Regions from separate parts of the Homo sapiens genome. Here region 2 is linked to region 1. Evidence: promoter capture Hi-C in human tissues and cell types (Jung and others, 2019). All regions are on one chromosome and are shown on one strand. Each heading gives the region's core, a stretch centred on a gene start or on the middle of the fragment in contact. The rest is flanking DNA. Distances are from core to core; before and after follow the strand shown.

Evidence for each region. Contacts are between HindIII fragments. The study calls those that stand out against the background at their distance.
Region 2: a contact is called between a fragment that was not itself captured here and the fragment with the promoter of ZNF287 in region 1, in 1 of the 25 tissues and cell types used here (lymphoblastoid cells).

What each region holds. Positions count from the first base shown.
Region 1 is chr17:16,565,801-16,573,669 of GRCh38, reverse strand. It overlaps ZNF287 (zinc finger protein 287), which reads left to right and starts at 4,466. Exons shown (of 6, transcript NM_020653.4): 1 at 4,466-4,718; 2 at 5,741-6,341; 3 at 7,048-7,145. The coding sequence starts at 5,939. RefSeq lists enhancers at 4,402-4,901, 4,902-5,403. The HindIII fragment of the contact is 5,740 bases long and covers 1,107-6,846 here.
Region 2 is chr17:16,079,816-16,087,684 of GRCh38, reverse strand. NCOR1 (nuclear receptor corepressor 1) reads left to right here. Exons shown (of 46, transcript NM_006311.4): 23 at 1,243-1,403; 24 at 6,958-7,078; 25 at 7,176-7,277; 26 at 7,621-7,721. It also overlaps the pseudogene RPL22P21. Among named protein-coding and RNA genes, the nearest start is that of SNORD163, 69 kb to the left of the region's middle. The HindIII fragment of the contact is 4,077 bases long and covers 1,344-5,420 here.

The DNA.
Region 1 (7,869 bases), core at 3,217-5,716:
TCAATGATGCTGGTGCCTCTCTCTAGCACATTCTTTATCGCAGCAGATGATCTTCCAGACTTTCTGATGAAACATAGACAGCTGGTATTTCAGCCTTACATACTCTACCTATTCTAGTATGCCCAGTTCCCTGAACCTTTTAACTTCTTATTTTACCTTTTGTCAAGCAATTCTGACATTTTCTGCTTAACATGAGCCATGTATTTCTCTAAATTTCTCTAATCCCCATCTCCTAGCATCCTTGCCAGAGTGTTTAAGTCCCGTATCACAGGAGTGTGCTTTCTTTCTTTCTTTTTTCTTTTTCTTTTCTTTTTCTTCTTTTTTTTTTTTTTTTTTTTTTTTTTTTTTTGAGACAGAACCTCGCTCTTGTTGCCCCGGCTGGAGTACAACAGTGCAATCTCGGCTCACTGCAACCTGCACCTCCCGGGTTCAAGCGATTCTCCTGCCTCAGCCTCCTGAGTTGCTGAGATTACAGGCACCTGCCACCACGCCTGGCTAATTTTTTGTATTTCTACTAGAGACAGGGTTTCACCATGCTGGCCAGGCTGGTCTCGAACTCCTGACCTCAGGTGAGCCGCCTGCCTCAGCCTCCCAAAGTGCTTGGATTACAGGCATGAGCCACTGTGCCTGGCCAGGAATGTGCTCCTTTTCAATAAACTCTCTGGTACTCTAATATATGTTTTACCTTCTTGATCCAGCATCCTCAGGGTCCAGTCTCATACATACTGTCCTGGTTCCTACAGATACATATAAACTAGGGCCTGTAGTAACTTCAGAGGATGGTTCTTTTCCTCTCTTATCATGCCCAGAATTTCCCCTGTTGGGTTTTTTTGGTGACTTAATTCTAGTTATTGGTCTAGTGGATGGGGTAGGGAGAGGAAAGGGTAGGTAGATCCTGAGGGGGCACGGGTTGTATTGCAATGTAGAGGCCTCAGTCTGCATCATCTTCAAGCAAGGCAGAGCCCTAGCTTTAGACTTGGAGGAGTGGGCCACTTTAGCAAGCCTGAGAAATTCAGAGTGATTGGTGTTTGAAGGTGTTTGCATGCACAAATCAAAATGTCCCCATCCCAAATCTCAGAGTTCTACTCCTTCCCAGCAGGATCCTGACCTTGGCATAGCAAACTTGCTGGGATTTAGAATTCAAACTTAGCTGAAGTTAGGGCCTGATTCTCAGCTGTTTTGCTGTCAGGCTTCAAAGAAGTCTTCTGACGCTCACATTTTCAATTAATTTGTCACTAATCACCGTCATTGTCAATAGCTCCTGGTAATAGCCATTCAATTCCATCATCTCTAGAATTACCACTTCCCCCAGTGTTATAAAGATCTGAGATATAGCACCCACCAGTGCGTTCCCTTCTGTCAACATTCCACCCCAGTTCAACACCACTGACAATTTTAACAATTACTTTGCTACAACCTGACATATGCTATCATTATCACTACTCTGCCAATCACAAGTCATAGGGCCCTCCCTCATTGTCAGCTAGGTGGCAGGTAACACAGTTTCAAAATTCCATTTTATGGCTAATGCCTGTAATCCCAGCACTTTGGGAGGCCAAGGCAGGCAGATCACCTGAGGTCAGGAGTTCAAGACCAGCCTGGACAACATGGCGAAACCCAGTGTCTACTAAAAAATACAAAAATTAGCCGGGTGTGGTGGTGGGTGCCTGTAATCCCAGCTACTCAGGAGGCTGAGGCAGAGAGAATTGCCTGAACCCGGGAGGCAAAGGTTTCAGTAAGCTGAGATTGCACCACTACACTCCAGCCTGTGCGACAGAGCAAGACCCCACCTCAAAAAGAAAAAAATTCCATTTTAGAGTTTGCGTTCTTGGAACAACTGCTGGTACCAACTGGTGTAGGGCAGATTCCCTATAAATAGATTCTGAGATGGAGAATTGCATACAAGGTAATTACTGGGTAGTGTTCTCTAGAAAAAATGCCTGTACAGGAGTGATATAAGGATAACTGGACAGAGTAATAGGTTTAAATGCTGTATGACTGCAACAGAGGCCTCAGTTGGTCTCACAGGGAACTCTTAAGCCAAGATGGCCCTTTATAGAGGCTGCAAGTTGAAGACAGGGGGCCAGGTCTTTGAGGCCTGCACTGAGCAGTCTTTGGATATGGACTTCCCCCGGGGAGAAGACGTGACTTGTGAGAGGCAGCCCCCTGCAGTTAGGACAACTCCCAAGGAAGTATTTTGCTGTGAGCCATCAGCAGCCACTCACCCGGCAGCTGCTGGGATGGATGCCTCAACCCTGAAGGAGGATCCTGGCAGCACCACAGTGTGCACTATAGGGCGTATTAAGTTTCCAGCTTTGGTTGTTGGTTTATGTTTTCCTCCCTACAGGTATGTCAGCTATTGCTTTGTATGTTTTGAGGCCTTAGTGTTAGGGACATGCTGTATATTTATGATAAATATATCTTTTCCATCAAGCACTCTTATTTATTCCCTTTTAATCTTCTCAAATTCTAGCTTATCAGATATTAGAATTATTACTTGTATCAGTCAGGGTTCAATCAAAAAAGCGGAACCAGTAGATATTTAAGATACTTGTGGCAAAGAGTTGGCTTACTCGATTGAGGGGGTGACCAGGTGAGTCCAAAGTCCATAAGAGCACCCCATCAGGAAGGGCAGGCTGGAAGCTGTGGTACGCTGATGGAGTTTCTTCTCCATCAGGGAAACTTCGGTTCTTTTTTGAAAGCTTTTAACTGATTGAATCAGGCCCACCCAAATTATCTAGGATAATCTCCCATGCTACTTAGTCCAACTGGGTTTATGGGCTTCAATCTCATCTACAAAATGCCTTTACAGCAACACCTAGATTCGTGTTTACTTAAATAGCAAGAGACTGTAGCCTAGCCAAGTTGACACATCAAAAGACCATCACACTCCCCAAGTTTGTTTTTTTTTTTTTTTGAGATGGAGTCTTGCTCGTGTCGCCCAGGCTGGAGTACATGGAGTGCAGTGGCAAAATCTCAGCTCATTGCAACCTCCGCTTCCCAGGTTCAAGTGATTCTCCTGCCTCAGCCTCTTGAGTAGCTGGGATTACAGGCGTGCGCCACCACACCAGGCTAATTTTTGTTCTTTTAGTAGAGACGGAGTTTCACCATGTTGGCCAGGCTGGTCTCAAACTCCTGACCTCAGGTGATCTACCTGCCTGGGCCTCCCAAAGTGCTGGAATTACAGGCGTGAGCCACCGCGCCCGGTCCAACTTTCTTTTTGTTAAAATTTTCCTGGTGTGGTGATATTAAGAGTCTTTGACAGTCCTCCTCCACCCTCACAGGATTCTGCCTCCATTTGATTCTCTGTAGGCTTGTGATTGCTTTGACCAAGAGTCTGACAGAATTGGTGTTAGGTGACTTCCAAGGCCATGTTATAATTGGCCATGGCGCTTCTCTCTTGTTCACTGGAATGCTCACTCTTGGAGCCCAGAGCCACCATGTAACAAGTCCAGCTGCCCTCAGTCCTTTATGCTGGAGAGACCACATTGAGGCACTCTGGTCAAACACAAGCCGAGTTCATCTTTTAGCCCATCTCCTCCCAAGCAGTAGACATGTGAGTGGAAAAGCCATCTTGGAAGCGGGCCCTCCCAGCCATCAAATCATCCCAACAGAGGCTACAGACATAATGAGGCAAAGGCCCACCCACTCAGTTCCCCTTTCAAATTCCTCACCATGAAATTTATGAGCATAATACGGTGATTGTCCTTCAAAACCACTAAGTTTTGGGGTGGTTTGTTAATAGAACAGTAGATAACGGGAACACCTTGAATATGTTTTTCTATGCTTTTATTTTTCCAGTGTTTTATGTATTTTTGTTTTGTGTCTCTTAGAAATAACAGCTACTCGGGAGGCTGAACCCAGGAAGTTCAAGTGAGAATCACTTGAACACAGGAGAATCACTTGAACCCAGGAGGCGGAGGTTGCAGTGAGCCGAGCTCGCACCATTGCACTCCAGCCTGGGCGACAGAGCGAGACTCCGTCTCAAAAGAAAAAAAAGAAAGAAAGAAAGAACATGGGTTTTTTTCCCCCAATCTGAGAGTCTCAGAATCAAATTCCTGAGGAGGAAGTGAAAACCTTTCACAGTTAGTATGTATGCACAGTAAAGCCCGAAACCGCACATTAAGTCTTTCTGCCTTTAGACCCACATCTTCCCTGCCCATTCTTCCTCTAGGAAATCTGGCGCCCAGTTTTCTCTGCGTAGTTGGCGCGGGGCTTCAACTCCCGGCGCTCCTCCAGCTACTGGCACCTCCCTGGCCTCCAAGACGTCTACCAGACCTGCGTCTGCCCGGGGAAACTTTGAAGTTCCCTTCGGAACCTCGCAGGCTGACAAGCAAGTCAGAGCGATGGGTGGAGGAGGTTGCCATGGAGACAGGTCCAGGGCCAGAGGCGCGGGAGGGGGAGGCGGCAGCTTGGGCTCCGATTGGCTCTGCGGGCGCGCAGCGTTCCTCTGGCGCACATGCGCAGTGACGCCGAGGCGAGGTCGCGGCTAAGCAGAGGCGCCGGGGTTTCTGGGCCGGGCTTCTCAGGACCGGGCTGGAACGTGCAGCTCCTGGCCGGGACACTCTGTGCTTTGCGGGGAAGGGAAGTGGCGGAGCCCGAGGATCCGCTGCCGCTCGGGACTGAGCCCGCCACGCAGGCGCCTGTGCCAGCGTCGCCATTGTTGCCTGTGGCCTTAGGGCCGCTCCGGCTGCCCGTCGGCCGGGTCCCAGCGACAGGTATTGATGTCCGGGCGCAGCGCGCGAGTGTCCGCGCGATCAGTGACAGCCCGAGCCCGTCCACGCGCGGGCTCCCGTGCTCGTGGCTTGCGGGAGGGCAAAGACGGGGTGGAGGCTGCTGTGGGCCCAGTCCCAGCGTTGCGCGTCGCACGGTCCCCGACTCCCCCGCTGCCCTCGACCTCGACCCTGCGGCTGAAGAGGAGTAAGAGGCAGAGGGACTTGGCCGGGAAGGGGAGGCGACAGGAGGCAAGGCAAGGCTGTCGCATCACCTCCGCAGGGCCTTGTAAACAGTTGTCTTTGGTGGCACGACTGTGCCTCAGCAGGGCTCGGAGCTGGAGCCTGGGGAGAGGTGGTGTCGGTTCTCCTCCAGATCAGGCCGGTTCTAAGGTTTCCTTCGAGAATCCTGGTTTCGAATATATCCCTAAAGAACTGTCTCCTATAGAAGCACTTAAAGGACTTGAAGTCACACCAACCTCTTCACTCTTTTCCAGTCCAACCCGCTGGTCTTCCCAACCCTCTGATAGTGAAAGGCTAGAATCGGCTGGCATTAACATGCAACGCAGATAAATGGCTCGCCCTTTCCCCTGACAGTTCCCTTGGGAACCTTGAGCACTGTATTAAGAAGAAATTCTCCTAGTTTCTTCCAAGTAACAGATTCACTTTGTTATTGTTGAGAGTCCGTTCAGTCATTACAGCTTCTGTAACATCAGTGACTAAAATAATGAAACTATTTTCTCTATAAAAATGTTTAATTTTTGTTACAACAGGTTAGAGGTTTAATCTGTTGTTTGGCTTAGATTCGAGTCATTGCCTCTGACACTACCTTTTTAATAGCAGCTCCATCCCCCACCAACCCCAAGCAGATGGCAGTTCCCTTACAAGTCTAAGGATATAGGGGAGGAAGACAAGGTAAAGCTTATGTGTGTTCATCTATGCACACTGCGAGTCTGTTTCTGTGTGTGTATATGTATAGTAGAGTACACCAGGGATTCTTGACCTTGTGGTCCATGCTTGTGTTTCAGGGTCTCTTATCCATCCCTGCAAGTTCTGGGCTCAGAATTTGTCACTAAGGCTGCTAACTCTACCTTGATTCTGTTCTGCCCTCGGCTGCAGCAGCCTTTGATATAGTGTCCTTGTGACTCTAGCATGAGACTTCAAGCAGTTGGCTCACTACTGGAGAAATAAAGGATATTGCCAGATTGACTCTCCTGTCTGTAGCAATGTTAGCCTCAAGCAAGAGGATGAACAGTTCTTCACGTTCTCAAATCCTTCTAAGGTGGAAGTCAGACAAGGCTCAGAGTGGACCCTACAATGTTGAGAAGGAAATCCTTACTTCAAGATTCTTGCGTGACACTGAGACCTGTCGACAGAATTTTAGGAATTTTCCATACCCAGACCTGGCTGGTCCTCGAAAGGCATTGAGTCAACTCCGAGAGCTCTGCCTTAAGTGGCTGAGACCTGAGATTCACTCAAAGGAACAAATTTTGGAGCTGCTGGTGCTGGAGCAATTCCTGACCATCCTGCCTGGTGAGGTTAGGACTTGGGTAAAGTCCCAGTATCCAGAGAGCAGCGAGGAAGCAGTGACTCTGGTGGAGGATTTGACTCAGATTCTAGAAGAGGAAGGTGAGAATCATAGAGCAGAGAGGGGAGGAATCCCTGGGTGGTTAAAGAAGACAACTAGCACATCTGAGCAGCTCCTTTAAAGAAATCAGGGAGAGCACTGAGAGGTCCAGGATGCATTTTTTAAAAAGAAAGAAACTGGGGAGAACAAAGGTTAGTGAGTGAGAACAAGGCTTTAACATGAGCTCCATCCTGCATGGTGTTCTCCTTCCAGATTGCTTGGGAGCAAACACACATTATCTAAACCCCCAAGAAAAACGTCTTGAAATAATGACCAGACGCAACCAAATTACCACTGTGTGAGCCCTCAGAAAGTACCTTCAGAGGTTTGCACCATTCTACTAATAAATCATTTGCTTTGTGAATTGAATTTTACAATAAAATACTTCCAAAAAAGGAAGAAAGGGTCTAGAGAACATTCCCTTATTAAGAGATAACTCACAAAATTAATATCACATAAGGATTTAGTTAAAATGTGAATTTTGTTCATACTCTTTAAGATTTTTAGAGCGAGCTTGTTTTTGAAGTCTGTTTTGATGTCTTAGGACAAGTCATTGGCCCTTTCCTCTGATGCTTTGAAGTAGGAGTGCTGTTTTTGATTTCCTTCTTACTTCTCGATTTAAGAAAGTGTAGGCATCTATTTGGTGAGGGGTTTCCTAGGCTATTCAGAAAGGACTAATCTCCCTCATGACCTCTTTCTCTTCTCTAGCTCCTCAAAACTCTACCCTTTCCCAAGATACCCCAGAGGAAGACCCCAGAGGAAAACATGCTTTCCAGACAGGATGGCTAAATGACTTGGTGACCAAAGTGAGTGTGACTGTCTTTTCTGATTTTAAAATGCCTTCTTAGTGTGTGAGGACATTTTCTGACCTGGCCCTATAACTACTGTGCCCCCAGAAGCTCTATCAAGGACTTAAGCCCCAGTTTCTCTCCTATGTTATCTTGGTCTGTTAAGGTAGGTGAATGTACTATAAAGAAAAGGTGCTTCCATTGCCTTCCCTTGATATGTCTTTCCTTACTTTGACTTTGTCAGCAATATCACATAGAGAATACGAGATTGACCTCCACAGCCAGATGGATTTAGGTTTTGTTTCCCGGCTCTACCATTGGAACTGCAATTTGGGACAAGATACTTAACCTCTCTTAGCCTGAGTTATTCTACTCTCATAAATAGAATTTACCTCTTAGGTTGTGAGTATTAAATATTATGAGACTTGTAGTTAGCCTGGATTACAGTTAAGCAATTAATAGATGATTGTTACTATTATTTTTCCTCATTAACAAGTAGTTAAAGGCCATGCATTCTGTCATATTACTGTTGGTCATGAATTTATATATATTTTTTGAGACAGAGTCGCACTCTGTTGCCCAGGCTGGAGTGCAGTGGTGCGATCTTGGTCCACGGCAGCCTCCACCTCCTGGGTTCAAGTGATTCTCATGCCACAGCCTCTGGAGTAGCTGGGGTTACAGGTGCATGCCACCATGCCTGGCTAATTTTTGTATTTTTAGTAGAGACAGGGTTTCGCCATGT
Region 2 (7,869 bases), core at 2,133-4,632, 480 kb after region 1:
CCTCCAGTCAGGCCAGATTTGAATTAACAGAATTGCTTGATAATCTGATGTTTGCCTGTTGTGATTTTATTGCATGTGAAAACACTTGATTCTCCTTAAGAGGAAAGAGAAGTTCTTTTTCCTTTAAAGGGAAAACTCGTAAATGAATTTTTGAGGATACACAGGAGATTTAGATTTACAGGATTTCTTAACTTCTCTGTGGGTGAATTTTGCCCCCAGGAGTTTTAGACTTTAATGTTATAGTCGGATCAGCCCCTGGATGGTGTGGGCTTGGTCCTTTCACACTTACTATTTTAATTTGGGGTTCTTCCCTTATTTTGATAACTTTAACTTTCATAGGAAAATCAGTCGCCTATATGCCTTATGCTGAGGTCAAACGTGCTCTAGAACAGGAAGCACAGATGCACAATACTGCAGCAAGGTCAGCCTCACCGTGTAGGCTTTCTCCAAGAGAAGTCAGTAAAGCCGCTCCACAGCCTGATATGAGTGCAGCCCGCTATAGTGTCCCGCCAGGTAAATATCACTCCTCTGTGCAGTGGCTGCTGGCCATCCACCCACAGATGTTCCACGTGGGTGGTTTAATCTCGTGAATGAACTGCTCTTCCAGGACGTGTCCTTGCTGTTTCAGAATGACTTTGTTTCTCTGCGTTCCATCATCAGTTGTATTTAGTTGAGTTCACTGGGCCACTGGGAAATTTGTGTTCACACATTTATACTGTGACATTGACTGGCTCTTCCTTTAAGAAGAGTACATGAATTTGTAAAAGTCTTGAGATCTCCCCATCCCCAAAATTCAAGTGTTCTGTGAGAGCCAGAATCAGTAAGTGTTTCTCAATATGCAAGATGCAAAAAGGATGTATAACTGGTTGTCAGTCATGTCTGCGCATTCTCTGAAGTAGTGTTATCAGCTGTTTTTAAGAAGTACCCTAAGAGTGATTGGCGAGAGAGAAAAAATTTTTGAAGACTGATGTTTGCTATGCTAAGCAGAAGTTTGAAATAAGCATCAGCTTGAAAGCTGTGGTTTGAAAGGGAGTTGAATATTTCAACCCCACAAATAGTATTTGTGACAAATATGTATACAGGCTTACGTGAATGAGAAATTTAAAATAGAAATGTTCATTGTTGGTTTCATCTTACATTTTTTAATTAGTGATTTAAAAATTCAGGAATGACTGAGAGAGGTAACATGTTGTAAACTAGGAAATGGACTAGTTTAAAATCATTTTTCTTTCCTTTTAAAAGTCCTTCAGCCTGCTCCACATCAAGTGATAACTAATCTCCCTGAAGGCGTTCGGCTTCCGACAACTCGACCAACCAGGCCACCGCCCCCTCTCATCCCGTCATCCAAAACCACAGTGGCTTCAGAAAAACCATCTTTTATAATGGGAGGCTCCATCTCACAGGTGAAACGACTTCTCTTTACAGTAGATTTCTTGTTGAATATGGCTTTGTTAAAACTTGTCCTCCCTCCTCGCACTGATTTGTCAGAGTTGTAATAAATAATAATCTGTCTGAATATGAAGTTTCAAGAGATAATGACCAGAAGATGCAGCAGTCACTGTACTCTTGCCACAAATCAGAACTTTCAGTGAGTTATGTACCCAGATTGAGTGGTCATAACATACCACCCATTTAATTACACTTGGCACTTGGCATACCACTTGGTTTAATTTACATCACTCTAAACTTACCAAGTTTTAAACTTAGTTTCAAACAGTAGAATATTTGTTCACTAACATATGGTAAAGGCTCAAAATATTAAATTGTAGGTGGTTAGTATTATAATTTATTCTGACTTTGGCCACTAAATCTTTTTTCTGGTTCATTACTTTTTAAAAAATTGAGATATGGTCTGGTCTTCACAGTTCCATCAGTTTTGACTAACTGTACATCAGTGGTCACACCCCTGTCAACTTATTGAACACTTCCATCACTTCAGAAAGTTTTCTCATGTTCCTTCCCAGGCCATCTCCCCTTCCACTGCCTGAAGCAACCACTATTTGATTTCCTGTTGTTGTAGATTAGTTTTGCCTTTTCTAGAACTTCCTGTGAATGGAATCAAACATGGTGTACTCTTTTGTGTCTGTCTTCTTTAACCCAGCATAATGGTTTTAGGGAATTCATCCAGGGTTTTATGTAATCAGTAGTTTCTTCCTTTTTATTGCTGAGTAATACCAGTTTGTTTATCCATTCTCCTGTTGATGAAAACCTGAGCTATTTCCAGTTTTTGGCAGCTATGAATAAAGCTGGTCATTCTTGTAATGGGTTCTTTGTGGACATATGTTTTTATTTTTCTTGTACAATTACCTGGGAGTGGAATTACTAGGTTTGTGTATGTTTTATACTTTTCCAGAATGGTTCTACAATTTTATGCTGCCACTAGCAATGTATGAGACGTGATTGCTCCATTTGCTGTTGTCAAGTCTTGGTCATTTTAGTCATACTTGGTGTGTAGTAATATCTTATTGTGGTTGTATTTTACATTTCCCTGAAAACAAACAATGTTGGGCACTTTTCATGTGCTTATTGGCCATTTGTACACCTATGAAGTGACTATTTAAGTCTGATTATCTGTTTCTACTGGGTCTTTTTGATACTGTGTTGTAGATCTTTATTATGGTTGAAAGTTCTCTGTTAGATATATGTATTACAAATATTTTCTCTGTTTTTTGTCTGTTTATTTTCTTACTGGTATTTTGATGAGAAGTTTCAAATTTTTATATAGTCTAAATATATATACACACTTTTTTCTCCTATGATTAGTTTTATTTTGCTAAGAAATCTTGGCCTGCTCCAAGGTTGTGAGATATTCGCCTGTGTTTTCTTCTGAAAGCTTTATAATTTTGGCTTTTATATTGAGGCATGTGACCAGTCTCAAATTAATTTTTGTGTATAGTATGAGGTCAGGATTAACATTCATCTTTATTTAAATTTCTAGTTGAAAAATAGCACCAGTTGAAACGTCTTTTACTCATTTGATCGCTTCAGTTCCTTTGTTAGAAATCATTTGACAGTATATATGGGTCTGTTTCTGCACTGTCTCCATGCTGTTCCACTGATCTACTTGTTCATCGTTTTGTCAGTACCACAGTCTTGATTACTGTAGCTTTATTGTAAGTCCTGAAATCATGTAGTATAAGTCTTCAGTGTTTTTGTTTTTCAAGATTGTTTTGACTATTTGATGTCTTTTGCATTTTCATATAAATTATATAATCAGCTTATCAATGTCTGTCTCCCCCCTTTTTTTGGTTCCCAAGTTTTATTCAAGAACTCATACAAAACATTCCAGGTAAATGAGTTATAATCCTCATCTTCCTTCTCTTTGTCCTGGTTAATTTGGAAGTAACACAATCCGAAATTCTCTTTGCTATTAGCAGCTACGCACGACCAATCACATAGCTTATTCTTCAGATATTTTTTGATGAGCTATTTCAAATACCCTTTGGAAAAAGGCACCTCAGAAGTTACGGTGCTTGTGTTCTTGCTCCTTTCAATAGTTACTACCCCTCCACCAAGATTCCCAGCTTTTCCATTCACTTTAATTCTGTCTTGGAGAAACTGCTCACAATTGGCAGCATCATCTGCGGGGTAGATCCAGTCAAGGGTATACTTCAGAACCTGCTTTTTTTCTTTTTTTGCCCCCACTTTTTCATGGGCACCTGGCAGCAGCAGAGGCAGAAACAATCTGTTTGTCAGTCTACTTAAAGAAAAAAAATTCTGCTGGGATCTCTTCTCTTCTCTTTTTTTTTCTTTTCTTTCGCCACTTCATTTATTTTATTTGCAGGAGTTGAAACATGTTTTAAGGGTGATGTTTATTTCCCCCCCCAAACATGAATCATTTAAGTAAAACCAACTTAACTGTAGAAATGTAGCAAAGTAAGGGGAAAGTAGCACAAACCACCCAAGAGGCAAAGGTTGTGGGGAAGAGGTGGGTGCAGTGAGCATTTAACATATGCATAAATGCTTTACGATTCACCTGCTCAGCACTGCCTCCCCAGAAGGCGAGCATAGGGAACTATTTTACGAGGATGTTTCCCCCCAAACATCTGAGAATGCTTCAAATTATAGTTTAAGGTTTAAAAGACCAAAAAAAAAAAAAAACCATGAACCACCCATCTGCTGGGATTTTTGTTGGGATTGTATTAAATCTATAGATCAATTTGAGGTAGAAATGGAAATCTTACATCGAATCTTCTAATCTATGAACTTGTATATCTATATCTCTCAGCAGCGCTTTAAAGTTTTCACTTTAGAGATTTGTATGTGTTTTGTTTGATTTATATTTGGCTATTTGATTCCTTTAAATTTTGTTTTTGTTTTTTTTTTTTGGACAAAGTCTTGCTTTGCAGTAGTGTGATCATAGCTCACTGTAGCCTCCAACTCCTGGGCTCAAGCAGTCCTCCCACCTCAGCCTTCCGAGTGGCTAGGAATTTTTTTTTTTTTCCTTTTTTTGAGACAGAGTCTTGCTCTGTTGCCCAGGCTGGAGTGCAGTGACACGATCTCGGCTCACTGCAACCTCCGCCTCCCAGTTTCAAACAATTCTCCAGCCTCAGCCTCCCAAGTAGCTGGGACTACAGGTGCACGCCACCCTGTCTGGCTAATCTTTTTGTATTTTTAGTAGAGACGGGGTTTCACCATGTTGGCCAGGATGGTCTTGATACAGGAATACTGAATAGTGAATTGGTGAACATGGACATGAATTTCTTGTTGCTCATCTTAGAAGGAAGGCATTCAGTATTTTACTGTTAGGCAGAATGTTAAGTTTTTCATGGATGTCTTTCATCAGATTGAAGATGTTTCCTTCCGTTCTTAGTTTGCTGAGACCCACCCCCACCCCTAGTTCTTATATTTTTTTAGCTCCAGAATTTCTATTTTGTTCTTTTTAATGATTTCTTTCTCTTTGTTGGTGTTCTCTATCTGGTGAAGTATCATTCTTGTACTTTCTTCTTTTTTTTTTTCTTTTTCTCTCTCCTAAAACAATTCTGTTGCTCAGGCTGGAGTGCAGTGGCATGATCTTAGCTCACTGTAGCATCAGTCTCCTGGGCTCAGTCAATCCTGCCTCAGCATCCTGAGTAGCTGGAACTACAGGCATGCATCACTATGCCTGGCTTTTAATTTTTTTTTTATTTTTTATAGAGACAGAGTCTTAATATCTTGTTAAGGCTGGTCTCAGACTCTTGGCCTCAAGCGATCCTCCTGCCTGGGTTTCCCAAAGTGTAAGGATTAAAGAAGGCAGGCCACTGCACCTGGCCTCCTTTAATTTAGACATGGTTTATTTTAGTTCTTGGAATACATTTATAATAGCTGATTTAAAGTCTTTATTCCTGAGCCCAAAGCTCAGGAATATTTTCTGTTCCCTGCTCTGTTTCATATGTATGGCTCACACTTTCATGTTTCTTTGCGTATCTTATAATTTTTGGTCAAAAACTGGACATTTTGTATAATGTAGCAACTCTGGAACTTGGATCCCCCCCACCCCCACTTTTCTTTTCAGAGCTTGTTGTTTCTTTTGGCTGTTATTATTTGCTTAGTGACTTTTCTTAACTAATTCTGTAAAGTCTGTATTATTTGTTGTGTGTAGCCACTGAAGTCTGATTAACTTAGTGATCAGCTAATGATTAGACAGACATTTCCTTAAATGTCTAAAATCAGTAAAATCAGCCTTTGCTGAGGGGTGCTCTTTATGTGTTGGGCACTTAACAGCTTTGCCTTAGTCTTTACTTCCTGGCGTGCAGAGCCTTAAGGGCAGCCTAAGTTGAGAGCAGTGGGGCCTTCCCATGTCTTTCCTAGGCATATTCATAGCCTTGCACATGCATGTAGCATTCTAGGTTCTAGGGAATATGTTGGAGTTTTTCAGACCCCATGAACATCTCATTCCCTGGCTTTTCCTTTTAAGTGTTTTGGTTAGCCTGTTGTTTACCCTGGCTGTTATCTACTGTCTCAGGCAGTGGAGAAGTTAATCAGTTGCCTCTGATTGTTTTTGACAAGTCTGCACCTCCTCTCCCACTCCAGTCAGGTCAAATAAAGACAGCTTTGTGAATGGAGTCTCCCAGAGAACCAACAGAGAAGTCAAACAATGACAGTTATCTGGGAATGAGGCTTTTAAGGAGCTCCATCCTTGCTCTTTCCCTTCTAGTGGCTGCCAGGCAGCCACCATAGGTTTGCACTATGATTGAGTGCTTTTGGTTTTCAACACTTCCATAGAGTTTGATCAGGAGAATGAGAATGGAACAAGTTAAAATGCCACAAAGCCCATTGTTTTTACCTGTTTTTACCTAGATTCAGCTTTTTTTTTTTTTTTTAAATAAATATTTCCAGATTTCTACAAGCCTTTGGTTAATTTCCAGGGTTCTTTAAAAGTCGATTCTTACATTGCTTGAGACTGGGAGGCGGAGGTTGCAGTGAGCCGAGATTGCTCCACTGCACTCCAGCCTGGGTGATAGAGCAAATCTCTGTCTCAAAAAAAAAAACAAAAAGAAAACAAAAAAAACAAAAGAAAAGAAAAGAAAAAAAAAGGTTGATTCTTAAAATTTTTCCAGGTTTTCTTGTTGCTTTTATGGAAGAGAGTTTTTGGAAGTCCTTATTACTTTGCTGTATTTGCTGATACCACTCTCCATAGCATTTTTAGTCGGAATGAATATTAATAATAGTAGCTTACATTTTGATTGCAACATATAAGTGCTTTATTTATGTAATTTATTAATAGTAAATACTATTTACATGTAATGTATGGTAATTTTAGAAGACATATCCTACTCCCTTTAAAATTTTTTTTATATTTAAGCAATCTACGATGAAGATTTTCTTGCTTTACAAAAACTATTCTTGGTTTTGGGTAGAAGGGGTATAATTTTTTTTTTTTTTAAACAGAAATGGGAATGCTGACTTTGTGAAATTGACCTTGTGAAAAAAACAATGTTTGCTTAATCTTTAAATTTTTTTTTGTTTTTTTCTTAGGGAACACCAGGCACTTATTTGACTTCTCATAATCAGGCTTCCTACACTCAAGAAACACCCAAGCCGTCAGTGGGATCTATCTCTCTTGGACTGCCACGGCAACAGGAATCTGCCAAATCAGGTCAGTGAGTTAATACAGTCATAATGCATCTACGTTTGTAGCATCACAGCCAGTAATTTAGTACTGGATTGTTTCATGTTTCTCTGCCTTTCCACAGCTACTTTGCCCTACATCAAGCAGGAAGAATTTTCTCCCCGAAGCCAAAACTCACAACCTGAGGGTCTGTTGGTCAGGGCCCAACATGAAGGTGTAGTCAGAGGTAAAATATGCTGGTTGGCAGAAATGTTAAACTTTTGTCCCCAATAAATTTATTAAAGTAAGTTATTAATATATTTTAATGATGGGCTTTTTTAACTATAGTCTTTAAATTCTAAATTTGTTTTCTTTCCATGTAAAAGTCATTTTAAAACCTTGAAGTTCCATGTTTCAGCAGTTCTTTAGTATTATTTTGGAAGTACATTTTAATAAAACAAACATGATGGGTTTTGTGCTGCTTTTTTCTTTTCTTCTTAGTTGAGTACTCTCCCAAGTAGGGGCTGTTTTTTTATGTTTTGGGGCAGGGGCTGGGGGTGTAATTTGCTAATAGCTTTGTTTGTATTCAGGTACCGCAGGAGCCATACAAGAAGGAAGTATAACTCGGGGAACTCCAACCAGCAAAATTTCAGTGGAGAGCATTCCATCCCTACGGGGCTCTATCACTCAGGTTAGTCACGATCATCTCTGATATACTCAACAGAAGCTCAGGAAAAAATGATAAATAATTCTTAGCACTTTGGCTATTTTGTGGCTTAAGTTCATTTTTCTGCATTATGGGACTGGGTCTCATAACCTAGATCTGCAAACTGTCTCCA